Linked DNA regions of Homo sapiens: all the other regions are linked to region 1. Evidence: promoter capture Hi-C in 16 types of primary human blood cells and fetal thymus (Javierre and others, 2016). All regions are on one chromosome and are shown on one strand. Each heading gives the region's core, a stretch centred on a gene start or on the middle of the fragment in contact. The rest is flanking DNA. Distances are from core to core; before and after follow the strand shown.

Region 1 (4,422 bases), core at 1,553-4,052:
GAATTATCCTAAACTACCAAGTGGGGTCCAAAGTAACCATAATGGTCCTTATAAGTGGAAGACGGAGGCAGGAGAGAGAGAGTCAGAGGAAATGTGATGACTGAGGCAGAGGTCAGAGTGATGCGACTGCTGCCTGGGGCCACAGGCCAAAGATGATGGGCAGGTCGAGTGTGGTGGCTCGCACCTGTAATCCCAGCACTTTGGGAGGCCAAGGTGGGCGGATCACAAGGTCAGGAGATCAAGACCATCCTCGCTAACACGGTGAAACCCCATCTCTACTAAAAATACAAAAAATTAGCCGGGCATGGTGGCGGGTGCCTGTAGTCCCAGCTACTCAGGAGGCTAAGGCAGGAGAATGGTGTGAACCCAGGAGGCGGAGTTTGCAGTGAGCCGAGATAGCACCACTGCACTCCAGCCTGGGTGACAGAGTGAGACTCCATCTCAAAAAAAAAAAAAAAAAATGATGGGCAGCCTCTAGATGTTGGAAAAGGCAAAGGAGTCTCCCACTACAGTCTCTTGACTTTAGCCCCATCAGGCTTATTTCTGCTAGTTGTGGTGGTTCATGCCTGTAATCCCAACTACTCGGGAGGCTGAGGCAGGAGGCTCACTTGAGGCCAGGAGTATGAGGCTGCAGTGAGCTATGATCACATCCTGCACTCCAGCAACCTGGGTGGGCAACAGAACCAGAGACTATCTCTTAAATATATATATATAGAGAGAGAGACTTGTTTCTCTGACTCTGTAAGACCATAAATAATAAATTTGTGTTGTTTTAAACAAGTAATTTTATGGTAATTTGTTATAGCAACAGTCGAACGCTAATACATGTGGTATCTGACACTCAGATCCCCCTCCACTACACAGTGACCAAAATTCATGCAGCAATGATTGGCAATGCTGCCCCTTTACCAAGTGGTGGTAAGTTCTGGTTATAACTCACAGAGGTGAAGGCAGGAAGCTGCTACTGGCCCTGACATTCTCAGTGCCATGCTCACAAGGGCATGTAGAAAGGCTTCACAATTTTCAGAAGCTTCCTTTTCATTCTCTTTACAGCACTAAAGCATCTTAAATGTATTATTTCAGCACCTATTAAGCACCTACTATCTGTCAGGTTCCAGAAATTCAAAGATAACCAGGACTCAGATCCTTAAGGAGCTTACAGCGCAGTAGGGTGGCAGAAGACATAAACAAGTTATTATAATGTAACAAAATATATGCAAGACAAAAATAACTTCAGGAAAAGAATCTTAGAACATGTGAATTACCATCTCTGTTTGGGGAGGGTAAGAGAGAATGGGAGGCATGGAAAGGGGTTGGAGTCCGAGCTAGGGGGTGACTAGCATCTTTGGAATCCCCAGCTTTGGTGGGTAAGGTTCTGACACCCACTTTAGGCCCCAGTGTCATCAGACCTGGTCTCTGCTGGGGCTGCTGCAAATCTCTGAGGTTGGGAAGGGAAGGTAACCGCAAGATGAAGCGAACAGGAATTTGCTAATACCTACACATAGCAGATGATCAGAGCTCTGGAGAGACATTCTCCATGACTTCTTGGAAGTTCAACAGATAAAGTGAAAGGTTCCATAAATTGTAATGTACCAGCTAGATATAAAGTATTATCCACTTGCTTGGGATTCATGCTTAGACATTGGGAAATCCCTTCTCAATTTTTGTCTCTAAACGAAGTCTATCTTCCAATTAAGAAAACAAACCCAAGATATAGACAGAAAAATAGGTCTGTTTCAATGCCTAGCATGTTCCATTTAAAATACAGTAAATTTGGGCTGAAAGAACTTATCACGCAATCTAGGGCAAACACCATCTCATGACTTTCCTGCCTAACCTCAATCCTGAGACCACCAAAAACACACCATTTCCTACTGAACATTGATATACTCAGAAACTGAAATCTAAAGCTGGAAAGGGCCTTAACGATAATTTAATAACAGTTTGTTTTACACATGAAGAACCCTGAGGTATGGAGGAGTTAAGATTAAAAAAAGAGAAACTGCCTTGGCGCAGTTATATGGGCTTTGCTAGAAGAGGCTGCGTCGGCTTATTTGATATCAGCTGTCATAGCTGGAGCTTCATGAAATCTCTAAGAGAGAGTACAATCCATTTCCTATGAAGTCTAAAATGTAAAAGGATATTACTAAGGAATGCTACCACGTAATTTTTTAATCATAATTATTATTTCAACCAGAGTTTTGAAAAGTGATTTACCAACACTGCGTATCATTTTGTTTTTGCTAAGTACTATCAACTGGAGCAATCTCGTGTAGTATTTATTCTCATTTATCTCTAAACAACTGGGGGTTTTCCAAAAAGACTCAAAATGTCGAAATCCAGCCTCTTTCGGGAAAACCACAGGTAAATAAGGAAAGACACCTTCGCAGGAGTTCCCCTCACACGCACCCACCCCTGGCGCAGGGCCCTACGGAGGCGGTGGAAACGCCCCTCTGGGAGCCCAGCACTCTCTCCCACCGGCTTGACGGGTGATGCTCGGGGGCTGGAGGCGGCTCTGCCAGGCTCCCGGGCTCCGCTACCACCGCGTCGCCCCCCCCGGCCTGCAGGGCTCGCGCTCTGAGGTCAGGCCGAGGACGCGGACAGCCGGGGAGCCGGGGCCGCGAGACAGAAGGGCCGGCCTGGGAGCGGGTGGCGCCGGCTGGGGACCAGGCGTGCCCACGTGACCGCCCCGCCCGCTGCCTGCGGCCCGCCGAGCCCCGCCACCTCCCTCGGGCTGCAGCTCCCGGCGTGCCCCGCACTCTCCGCTGCCCACCCGCTCGCCCGCCCCTCCTTCTCCTCCCAGTGCCACAGAGCCGAAGCCCGAGCTGCCGCCGCAGCCACAGCCGAGGGCACTATGGTAAGACGAGCGCGCTGGCCGGGAGGCCGCGGCGAGGCGAGAAAAGCCCCCCGCACGGCCCCGGGAGTGAGGCCGCCATTTTAACCTGATTTTGGCCTCCAAGGTGGGCGCTTCTGCTCTGCGGCTCCGCTGCTCTCCAGCCGACCGGCCTGCCCTCCGGCCGTCAGGCCCTGCCCTGCTGCTCTTTGGATTTTGGGGGGCGGGGAGGGCCCGGGCGTCGGCGCAGGTTGGGGGTCGGGGCCGGGCGGGCGGGGGCGCGAGAGGGTCTGCGGACTGCAGCCGCTCGCGCCGCCTTTGCCCTTCGCTTCCTAATTTTACTTAACACGCGAGGCTTTAAAATTGGTACGTGCTGCGAACGCTGTGTGGGTCAGGGTCTGGACGGCCTGTAATAAAACCCTTACGGGGAGATTAAGGAAGAGGGAAAACACTTTTTAAAATGCTTTCTCGCCGTAAAAGCTTTTACACTCGATCAGTTAGTTTTGGAGTGTCTGCATGTGAGCTGTGTGTGGGCCGTGGGCGGTTTGGAGTTTACACTTGATTCTCTTTCCTTATGAGGAAACGTCAGTGGCTAGGATGACTTTAAAGAAAAAAATAGTAGAAGCATTAACTGAAATCCAAAAGTGTTTTTTTAAGGCCAGCCGAGTTGACACAATACAGAAGGTATTTTTGCTGCCACTCCTGAAGCTCTGACATCACCCAGTGAAATAGGAAACATTTCAGGGATGGGACAACTTGTATTTGTCCCTTTCGCTTCCACGTCCAAACCCCTTTAAGAAGGATGAATGGGCAGGATGAGTTAGACTCCTTCGCTGTATCGTCTACTGATTCTTAAAATGTGACAAATCTGATTGGACGACTTACATGGTACGGTGCAATTTTTGATGTCCAGACTAAAGTGAGTCTTCTCTAGGCAAACAGTAATTTTGGTTAAAACCAAAATACGTGTTCTGAATTACTGTTCTGTGTTTATTTTCAGGCTTCTGGAGTTACAGTGAATGATGAAGTCATCAAAGTTTTTAATGATATGAAAGTAAGGAAATCTTCTACACAAGAGGAGATCAAAAAGAGAAAGAAAGCAGTTCTCTTCTGTTTAAGCGATGACAAAAGACAAATAATTGTAGAGGAAGCAAAGCAGATCTTGGTGGGTGACATTGGTGATACTGTAGAGGACCCCTACACATCTTTTGTGAAGTTGCTACCTCTGAATGATTGCCGATATGCTTTGTACGATGCCACATACGAAACAAAAGAGTCTAAGAAAGAAGACCTAGTATTTATATTCTGGTGTGTAAAAACAAAAGAAAAAAGTACTTTTAAAATGCAAGGATTATTATTATCATAGTCAGTCTTACCTTTGTTTTTCTTATAAATGGGATTCAATAATTTTTTTTTTTTCTGTAGGGCTCCTGAAAGTGCACCTTTAAAAAGCAAGATGATTTATGCTAGCTCTAAAGATGCCATTAAAAAGAAATTTACAGGTACAAACTTGAATATTTGGGGCAGAGAAATTATTCTTTATTAATTATAATAAAGTAATAGGATAATGTTTTTTCTTTTTAGGTATT
Region 2 (4,478 bases), core at 972-3,471, 3.3 Mb after region 1:
ACATAAACTTGGGATATCTTGTCATGCCAGAAAGTAAGGAAGTCATCAAGGAATACTATGTTCATTTTAAAAAGAGGTAACTTAAGGGGCTCCCACTGATCAAAGATGGCATGATTTATACATCAAAATTAATAATGACTACAGTGAATTAAAACATACTAGATAATATATAAAATTTCATGAGTTCATAATGATATTCAACTTCTCCAAATTGTATTGCTACCAAAAAATGTCATTTTCTGAGTAAATTTAGAATCAGACAAATAAATGACACAAACCTAGTGAATAAATAACCCAGTTTTAATGTACAAAGAATTTTGAAGAGAACTAAAGAAAAATTTTAATGAAACCTAGATAATACAACATAGGCAAGCAAGGTGTTTGAATTTTGTTTCTTTTTTAATAGCTAGGAATTGTAAGTTGTCAGAGAACATTATTTGACAGTGAAAGCCCTTCTAACCCATACTTCTCACAAACTCGTAAATATATTTAAAAAAATACACCATTATTCCTTTCTTTCTCATTGCCACTCCTGTGTCATTATGGAGTTTGATAGTATATCCACCATAGTGTAGGCTCTGCAGAAGACCATTCCATAACTTGAACAATTCCAAAAATATTTTGAGTATTGCCAATGCCACTGAAATAAGGTAGGTGACAACTTTGGAAGATGAGATTATTTAAATTTATTATTTTAGTTATATTCTTAACACATCACATCTTGCTAAGCAAAGACTTGTCATTCAATGTATTTAATTAAACCTATTCTCATATCTCATTAATTCAGACAAGGTTCCCATTCCCATATTATATTTGGAATTTCTTTCCGAGAGAATTATCCACTTGTTCTGATTTGACTAGAATGGTTTGTTTTGTCCTCACTCTTTTTGAGTGCTATCCATTGACTGTATGAGCTGCAGGGAGTCCTAAATTAGTAGTAAGTTGGTTGGTTGGTTTAAAATACACTAGCCTTCTTCTTTAGAAAATTTATATGCCAACTCATAATACTTCCTGCTTTTTCAGAGGTGATTGGTAATAGGTGTTTTCTCATATTAGATGCTCTCTGGCCTTGTACTGTGTAAGCATACATTATCCATAAATGTGAAATGTCCTGTTTTTCTTCTCTGTTGTTTTATAACATGGACCCCTTTTTTTGAAACAGGGTCTTGCTTTGTCACCTAGGCCAGAGTGCAGTGGCGAGATCATAGATCACTGCAGCCTCAAATGCCAGGGCTCAAGCAATCTTCCCGTCTCAGCCTCCCAAGTGGCTGAAACTACAGGCACGTAATTCCATTGCCTGGCTAATTCTTTTTATTTTTTTGTGAAGATAGGATCTCACTCTGTTGCCCAGGCTGGTCCTTTTTTTTTTTTTTTTTTTTTTTCCAAGGAGACATGGTCTTTCTTTATTGCCCAGGCTGCAATGCAGTGGTGTGATCCTAGCTCACTCCTAGGCTGGTCTTGAATTTCTGGCCTCAATTGGTCCTCCCACCTTGGCCTTCTGAGTCGTTGGGATTACAGGCATGAGCCACTGTGCCCAGCCTCATAGACTTTTTTACTATAACATTTTAATAAATTTCACTCTTCAGTATGAGACTATTTTGACTACCTCTAACCACTATAGTATACTACCTCTTGGAAGACTATTATCAGCTACTGAGTTACAAAAGTAGTATGTAGCTTTTTTTTGTTGTTGAGACTGAGTCTCACTCTGTTGCCCAGGCTGGAGTTTCAGTGGCATAATCTCAGCTCACTACAACCTCTGCCTCCTGGGTTCAAGCGATTCTTCTGCCTCAGCCTCCCGAGTAGCTGGGACTACAGGCATGTGCCACCACGCCCGGCTAATTTTTTGTATTTTTAGTAGAGATGGGGTTTCACTGTGCTAGCCAGGATGGTCTCGATCTCCTGACTTTGTGATCCACCCGCCTCAGCCTCCCAAAGTGCTGGGATTACAGGCGTGAGCCACCGCACCTGGCTGTATGTAGCATTTTTAAGAGAGAGACTCCTGTAAGAAAACTTTTTTTGGATAATTATGGATTTAAAAGGATAGTTGCTCAAAACTAAAAGTAAATTCAAATTCTATACAGCTATACTTGAATAATCTTACATTGTTGTCACATGTGTTCTACAAAAAATTATGGGATTGTTGTGTACTACCTCATATACCAGTATTTAACCTTGAAAACTTAATTTTTTATAGTTTCCTTTATGACAGTCCTATTATGTAGTCTACACGAATGACAGTTCTTTATCGTTTACATTTATTTTATGTAAGAATTAATTTTTCAAGATATTGTTAGCTGCTATCATTTAGTAATTTATAAACTGATATGCTTTTTTTAAAACTTGTTCTATATGTAAATAGATTATTATGACATTAGCAGAGGATTTGCTGTGTTCTGCTGCTCAAAACAGTCGCCTTTCAGCTCAGCGCACACAAGCTGGATGGTTGCTGATTTCTGCTCTGATGACATTAGGTAACAGTCTGTAGAAGGTTTACATACCTTGAAATACTTTGTGTTTTCTGAGTGAAATGATTCTTATATGTGATTTGATGAAATGAACTTTTAATACATACCAGAATTTAAATAGCCACACAAACATTTTTCTTGTAGTAGTCACCTTAAAAAGCCTTTTACTTTCGTCATTGCTTAAAACCTTTTGAGATCTCTCTTGATTTTCTCTTCCGGGCTAGATGATAAGCCTCAAGTAGGATAAGCCGAGTTACTAATCATCTTTCAGGCTTAACTCTGAACAACTGTGGCTTTTTCAAAAATCATTGACATCCATCTTCAGAAAAAAACATTTCCACAATATAGGCAAAAGAACATACCCATAGCTTGGGAATCCAGTTCTATAATTGTTTGAGGATTCATAACAGCCAATAAGGTTGCTACATTGAAGGGGATGAATTTTACTTAAATTATATTTATTAAAAAACAGTAATTGTTTTACAGTCATGACTATTTATATCCTCTAAATTTTTGAGACAGGGTCTCACTCTGTCACACGAGCTGGAGTGCAGTGGCATGATCATGGCTCACTGCAGCCTTGACCTCCTGGGCCCAAGTGATCCTCCTACCTAAGCCTCCCAAGTAGCTGGGACCATAGGCATGCAACATCATGCCTGGCTAATTTAAAAAAATTTTTTTTGTAGAGATGGGGTCTCACTATGTTGCCCAGGCTCGTCTCGAACTTGTGGGCTCAAGCAGTCCTTCCGCCTTGGCCTCCCAAAGTGTTGGCATTATAAGCATGAGCCACTGAAAACTTTATTTATTTATTTTTTGCCCAGTCTTATGGTGCTAATGAAACTTAATTTTATTACTCTATCACACCTATATTTTAAGTCTCTGTTGTCATACAAGTTATAGCTAGATATAAAACAACTGGCTGAGGCTGGGCATGGTGGCTCACGCTTGTAATCCCCGCACTTTGGGAGGCTGAGGCGGGTGGATCACTTGAGGTCAGGAGTTCAAGATCAGCCTGGCCAACAAGGTGAAACCCCATCTCTACTAAAATACAAAAATTAGCCGGGCATGGTGGTGCATGCCTGTAGTCCCAGCTACTCGGGAAGCTGAGGCAGGAGAATTGCTTGAACCCAGGAGGTGGAGGTTGCAGTGAAGTGAGATTGCACCACTGCACTCCAGCTTGGGTGACAGAGCAAGACTCCCTCTCAAAATAAAACAAAAAATGAATAGTTCGGGCGCAGTGGCTCACGCCGTAATCCTAGCACTTTGGGAGGCCTAGGCGGGCGGATCATCTGAGGTCAGGAGTTCAAGACCAGCCTGGCCAACAACACGGTGAAATCTTGCTTCTACTAAAAAAAATACAAAAATTAGCCAGACATGGTGGCATGTGCCTGTAGTCCCAGCTACAGGGGAGGCTGAGGCAGGAGAATTGCTTGAACCCAGGAGGCAGAGGTTGCAGTGAGCTGAGATCATGCCACTGCACTCCAGCCTGGGTGACAGAACAAGACTCCGTCTCAAAAAATAAAAATAAAAAATAATAATAAAATAAAGCAACTGACCTGATTTGGCCGATAAATCATTTTGACACCTATAAAGTAATTTGACCTAAAGGAGCTTAAATTAGAATAAACAATCATAAATGAAGAACTACTTTAAGTAGTGTTTTTTTTTTTTGTTTGTTTTTTTTTGAGGTGGAGTCTCACTTTGTCACCCAGGCTGGAGTGCAGTGGCGCGATCTCGGCTCACTGCAAGCTCTACCTCCTGGGTTCATGCCATTCTCCTGCCTCAGCCTCCCGAGTAGCTGGGACTACAGGCGCCCACCACCACACCTGGCTAATTTTTTGTATTTTTTAGTAGAGACGGGGTTTCACCATGTTAGCCAGGATGGCCTCGATGTGCTGACTTCGTGATCCACCTGCCTCGGCCTCCCAAAGCGCTGGGATTACAGGCGTGAGCCACCGCACCTGGCCAAGTAGTGTTCTTAAGATGATTAAAGAGATTTATTGGACTAGA
Region 3 (4,410 bases), core at 255-2,754, 3.7 Mb after region 1:
GGTAAAGTTAGTGTATCTTCTCCAGCCCTTCACACATACTGTTTCCTCTGCTTAGAACACTTCCTCTCCCATTTGATCTGAGTTCTCTTCAGGTCAAAGCTTAGCTATCATTTCCTCTGGGAAAACATTTTTGAGCCTGCAAGTGTAAATGAGGTATTCCTCCTATGTGATGAACTTCCATTATTATAATATTTATTAACCTGCATTACAGATGCCTGTCCTATTTACTTTATCTTTAACAGTAGGCTGTAATCTCTGTGAGGGTAGGGATTGTATTGCCCTATGTATGATTGTACCCCAGAATGAAAGAATGAATACTAGTACTCATATTATTTCAACAAATTTGTGTTTCTCATAGGTTGAAGGAACTCTGTGTGATACAGAGTTGAACATAAGTTCTTTTATTCAGGTAACTTCAAATCTAATGGAGGAGAAATAGGTTACCTCATACCTTGCCCTACTCCACATGACCTCTTAATAGTAGGAACTTCAAACCAAATGGTATGATCATACCTGGTCAAAACCAAGCTGAAAATAAAACCTAGAAATACTGCTGGCCTGTTTCTGAAGCAGCTAATGATTAGACTGTATCTTCTCTTTCTCATATTAGTCAAGAGTAAGCTGTGATGATGTTAATGCTATGTCTTAATTCCTTCCTTTTCTGGTACAGCTGCCCCTCTGTATCTGTGGGTTCCACATCCTTGAGTTCAACCAGCTGTGAATCATAAATATTCAAGGAAAAGAAAGGACTGTTGCATCTGTACTGCACATGTACAGACTTTTTTCTTTGTCATTATTCCCTAAACAGTATAATATAACAACTATTTACATGCACCTACATTGTATTAGGTATTTAAAGTAATCAAGAGATAATTTAAAGTATATGGGAGGATATGCATAGGTTATATGCAAATACTACACCATTTTATATAAAGGGCTTGAGCATCTCTGCGTTTTGGTATCCTAGGAGGGTCCTGAAACCGCTCCCTCACAGATAGTGAGGGCCAACTGTATTTTAACAGATGAAATCTGTGCTGTGTCAGCTTTAGGGAGACAAGTCATGGTCACATTTTTTGGCACTCATATACACCCTAAATTCTGTGGTCTTCATTATAAGTTAAGGAACCTGTCTCCCCTTTTGCATATCAAGTACATGCCATCTCTTAAAAGTCATAGTGCCCTTTGGCCGGGCGCGGTGGCTCAGGCCTGTAATCCCAGCACTTTGGGAGTCTGAGGCGGGCGGATCATGAGATCAGGAGATCGAGACCATCCTGGCTAATACGGTGAAACCCCGTCTCTACTAAAAATGCAAAAAAAAATTAGCCGGGTGTGCTGGTGGCGGGCACCTATAGTCCCAGCTACTTGGGAGGCTGAGGCAGGAGAATGGCATGAACCCGAGAGGCAGAGCTTGCAGTGAGCCGAGATTGCGCCACTGTACTCCAGCCTGGGTAACAGAGTGATACTCCATCTCAAAAAAAAAAAAAAGTCATAGTGCCCTCAGAAGACTGCTAGAACACTCTTGCCACTCTGGTTTACTGTTACTTCTCTTTAACTCCTTGAGTCATTAGGCCCAGGGATTTTTTCAGGAAATGTGTATAGGAGTCCCTCTTTCCTGAGTTTATAGCCTCTTGTTCTGTCCCATTCCACATTTCTGAATTGAAATGACACACATGCTCTTAAAGTATCTGAGCCTTCCATTTTTTTGATTTAGTCTTCATTGTCACCATTGTGAGTCTTTCAATAACTGATGACAGACAATTCATATTAATCATCCCATTTCATAGATATGGAAACTGAGGTAATTAATTTGCCCAGGGTCACATGAGTTAGTATGTGTTAGGGTTGGAATTATGCATTGGAATCTCCTACCGTCTGGCTATAAATCCTGTGTTTTGTCCGGGCGCGGTGGCTCACGCCTGTAATCCCAGCACTTTGGGAGGCTGAGGCGGATGGATCACGAGGTCAGGAGATAGAGACCATCCTGGCTAACACAGTGAAACCCCATCTCTAAAAATACAAAAAAATTAGCCAGGCGAGGTGGCGGGCACCTGTAGTCCCAGCTACTCGGGAGGCTGAGGCAGGAGAATGGCGTGAATCTGGGAGGTGGAGCTTGCAGTGAGTTGAGATTGCGCCACTGCACTCCAGCCTGGGCGACAGAGCCAGACTCCATCTCAAAATAAATAAATAAATAAAAATCCTGTGTTTAAATGACTGTTTTGTTGCTGCTGTCTCGCTACCTCCCAATCTACTACCTTTGGAGAAATAGTCACTATATCATTGGGCTGCCATGAAGAGGAAGGCTTTTGAAGTCAGGCCTAGGTATATAACAGCAAGCCATCTCTTCCAGGTATGGGTGCCATTGCTGTGAAGATAGAGGAAGTTCACGGTGAAGAAGGTAGTCAGAATCTGTTTGTGGCAGGGTCCAGGCTGGGCAGGTTACTAGAACAGGGGTCTTTAAGTGATTGCTTAGTGGGCCAAAGAATAAGGTAACTGACCCCTCTCTTTATCTTGAACTTGACCAGACTACTTTCTGTGGATGATTCAAATTCCTTTTCATATGAGTCTTTTTATTTTTGAAGGTTAAGAATCTACCTGGGGTAGTGAAGGCATTGGACCCTGGGAAGCCAGTAGACTTGAGATCTACTGTCCTGATTCTTCTATCTTACTAGCCAAGACAGTGTCCGTGAGCAAGACACTTTACTTCCAGAGGGGGTGGCTTAGTTGCCTAATTTGTAAAATAATTATAATTCATTATTGGAAGTGGAGATTATAGAGCTGGAATATTCACTTCCTGTGGTATAAATAGTGTGAACAAAAGTTGGATGGCTGTAAAGTGCAAGGTCTTTTTTGAGGAATGTTGCATGTTTCACTTGTGGTAGAGTACAGAGGAATGATGAAAAATAAGCTTGAAAATGTAGGATAATGGTAGAATGGAGAGAACCTTGAAAATAGCCTGTTAGGACAGTAGATGAGTCATTCAAAACTTTGTCAGAGAAAAGTGAGAGGACCTGCTTTATAATTGTACCATGACTTCATTTTCTTTATTAATTATTCTCTTTCTCTTTTTAAATGTTCAGATTTTAAGGAATAAATTTGCATTCCAACCAAGTTTTGCTGTTTCATCTCCATTCATTGATATGCTTTAATTTTGTTGTAGTTGGGCTCAGCAGATTTCTACTTTGTATTGTATATGTTCGTTGAGTAAATATATTTGGTAAAATTAAGAAAGGTAAATAACAAATAAAAATAGGTTGTGGTGCTAGCAGAAAGGGGCATAAAGAGATAAGCTTAGAAAAGTTAATACCTGGAACAGCTTTTTGTTTATTAATTTTAGTTTGAGTATAAGGGTCAGAGTTTGGTTGATAATACCTTTTAGGATTTGCTTATGAGGCCAAAGTGCTGCTCGTGTCACAGGACCTAGCTGAGCATCTTGGACATTGTTTTTTAATATGTCAAATCAGTGTTAGTCTTGTTCAGTATAATAAACATTTATTGAATGTTTGGAATAATGGAAGACTTGGCTTCTGTTCAGGGCTCACAGTCCAGTGAAGGAATGTAAAACTTGCTTTAATATACAAGACATTTGGAAGAAAGCACTGCAAGAAGTGAGAAAAACAGCTGGACGCGGTGGCTTACGCCTGTAGTCCCAGCACGTTGGGAGGCCTAGGCGGGCGATTCACAAGGTCAGGAGTTCAAGACCAGCCTGACCAACATGGTGAAACCCCGTCTCTACTAAAAATACAAAAATTAGCTGGGCATGGTGGCACACACCTGTAATCCCAGCTACTTGGGAGGCTGAGGCAGGAGAATTGCTTGAACCCGGGAGGCAGAGGTTGCAGTACCAAGACCGCGCGCCACTGCACTCCAGCCTGGGCAACAGAACGAGAGTCTGTCTCAAAAAAAAAAAAAATTATATTCAACTGATTGAATGTAAGAAAATATTGTGGGCAGAATCACAGCGAGTAGTCAGAATAATCTTTCTGGAATGCAAATATTGATTATTTTATTGTTTTACTTTTTAAGCTACCATGGCTCCTCCAAATTTCTAATATGAACCTCAAGGTCCTACATGGCCTGGTTGTGACGTATTTCTCTAGCCTCAGCTTAAATTTTATTTTATGTTTTTTTTTATTTTTTATTTTTTTGAGATGGAGTCTCGCTCTGTCACCCAGGCTGAAGTGCAGTGGCGCGATCTCAGCTCACTGCAAGCTCTGCCTCCTGGGTTCACGCCATTCTCCTGCCTCAGCCTCCTGAGTAGCTGGGACTACAGGCGCCTGCCACCACGCCCAGCTAATTTTTTGTATTTTTAGTAGAGATGGGGTTTCACCATGTTAGCCAGGATAGTCTCGATCTCCTGACCCTGTGATCCGCCTGCCTCGGCCTCCCAAAGTGCTGGGATTACAGGCGTGA

The links. Contacts are between HindIII fragments. The CHiCAGO score rates a contact against its expected background, and 5 or more counts as called.
Region 2: a contact is called between a fragment that was not itself captured here and the fragment with the promoter of CFL2 in region 1, in 1 of 17 cell types (M0 macrophages). The highest score is 5.4, in M0 macrophages.
Region 3: a fragment that was not itself captured here is called in contact with the fragment with the promoter of CFL2 in region 1 in 1 of 17 cell types (total B cells); the score reaches 5.2 in total B cells.

What each region holds. Positions count from the first base shown.
Region 1 is chr14:34,712,973-34,717,394 of GRCh38, reverse strand. CFL2 (cofilin 2) reads left to right here and starts at 2,802. Exons shown (of 4, transcript NM_138638.5): 1 at 2,802-2,857; 2 at 3,834-4,141; 3 at 4,259-4,335; 4 at 4,418-4,422. The coding sequence starts at 2,855. RefSeq lists silencers at 2,366-2,955, 3,046-3,105. The HindIII fragment of the contact is 2,283 bases long and covers 1,033-3,315 here.
Region 2 is chr14:31,378,463-31,382,940 of GRCh38, reverse strand. HEATR5A (HEAT repeat containing 5A) reads left to right here. Exons shown (of 36, transcript NM_015473.4): 11 at 2,363-2,474. Among named protein-coding and RNA genes, the nearest start is that of HEATR5A, 40 kb to the left of the region's middle. The HindIII fragment of the contact is 5,231 bases long and covers 1-4,478 here.
Region 3 is chr14:30,987,242-30,991,651 of GRCh38, reverse strand. The region is part of intron 1 of STRN3 (striatin 3); the gene reads left to right. Among named protein-coding and RNA genes, the nearest start is that of MIR624, 25 kb to the left of the region's middle. The HindIII fragment of the contact is 2,806 bases long and covers 102-2,907 here.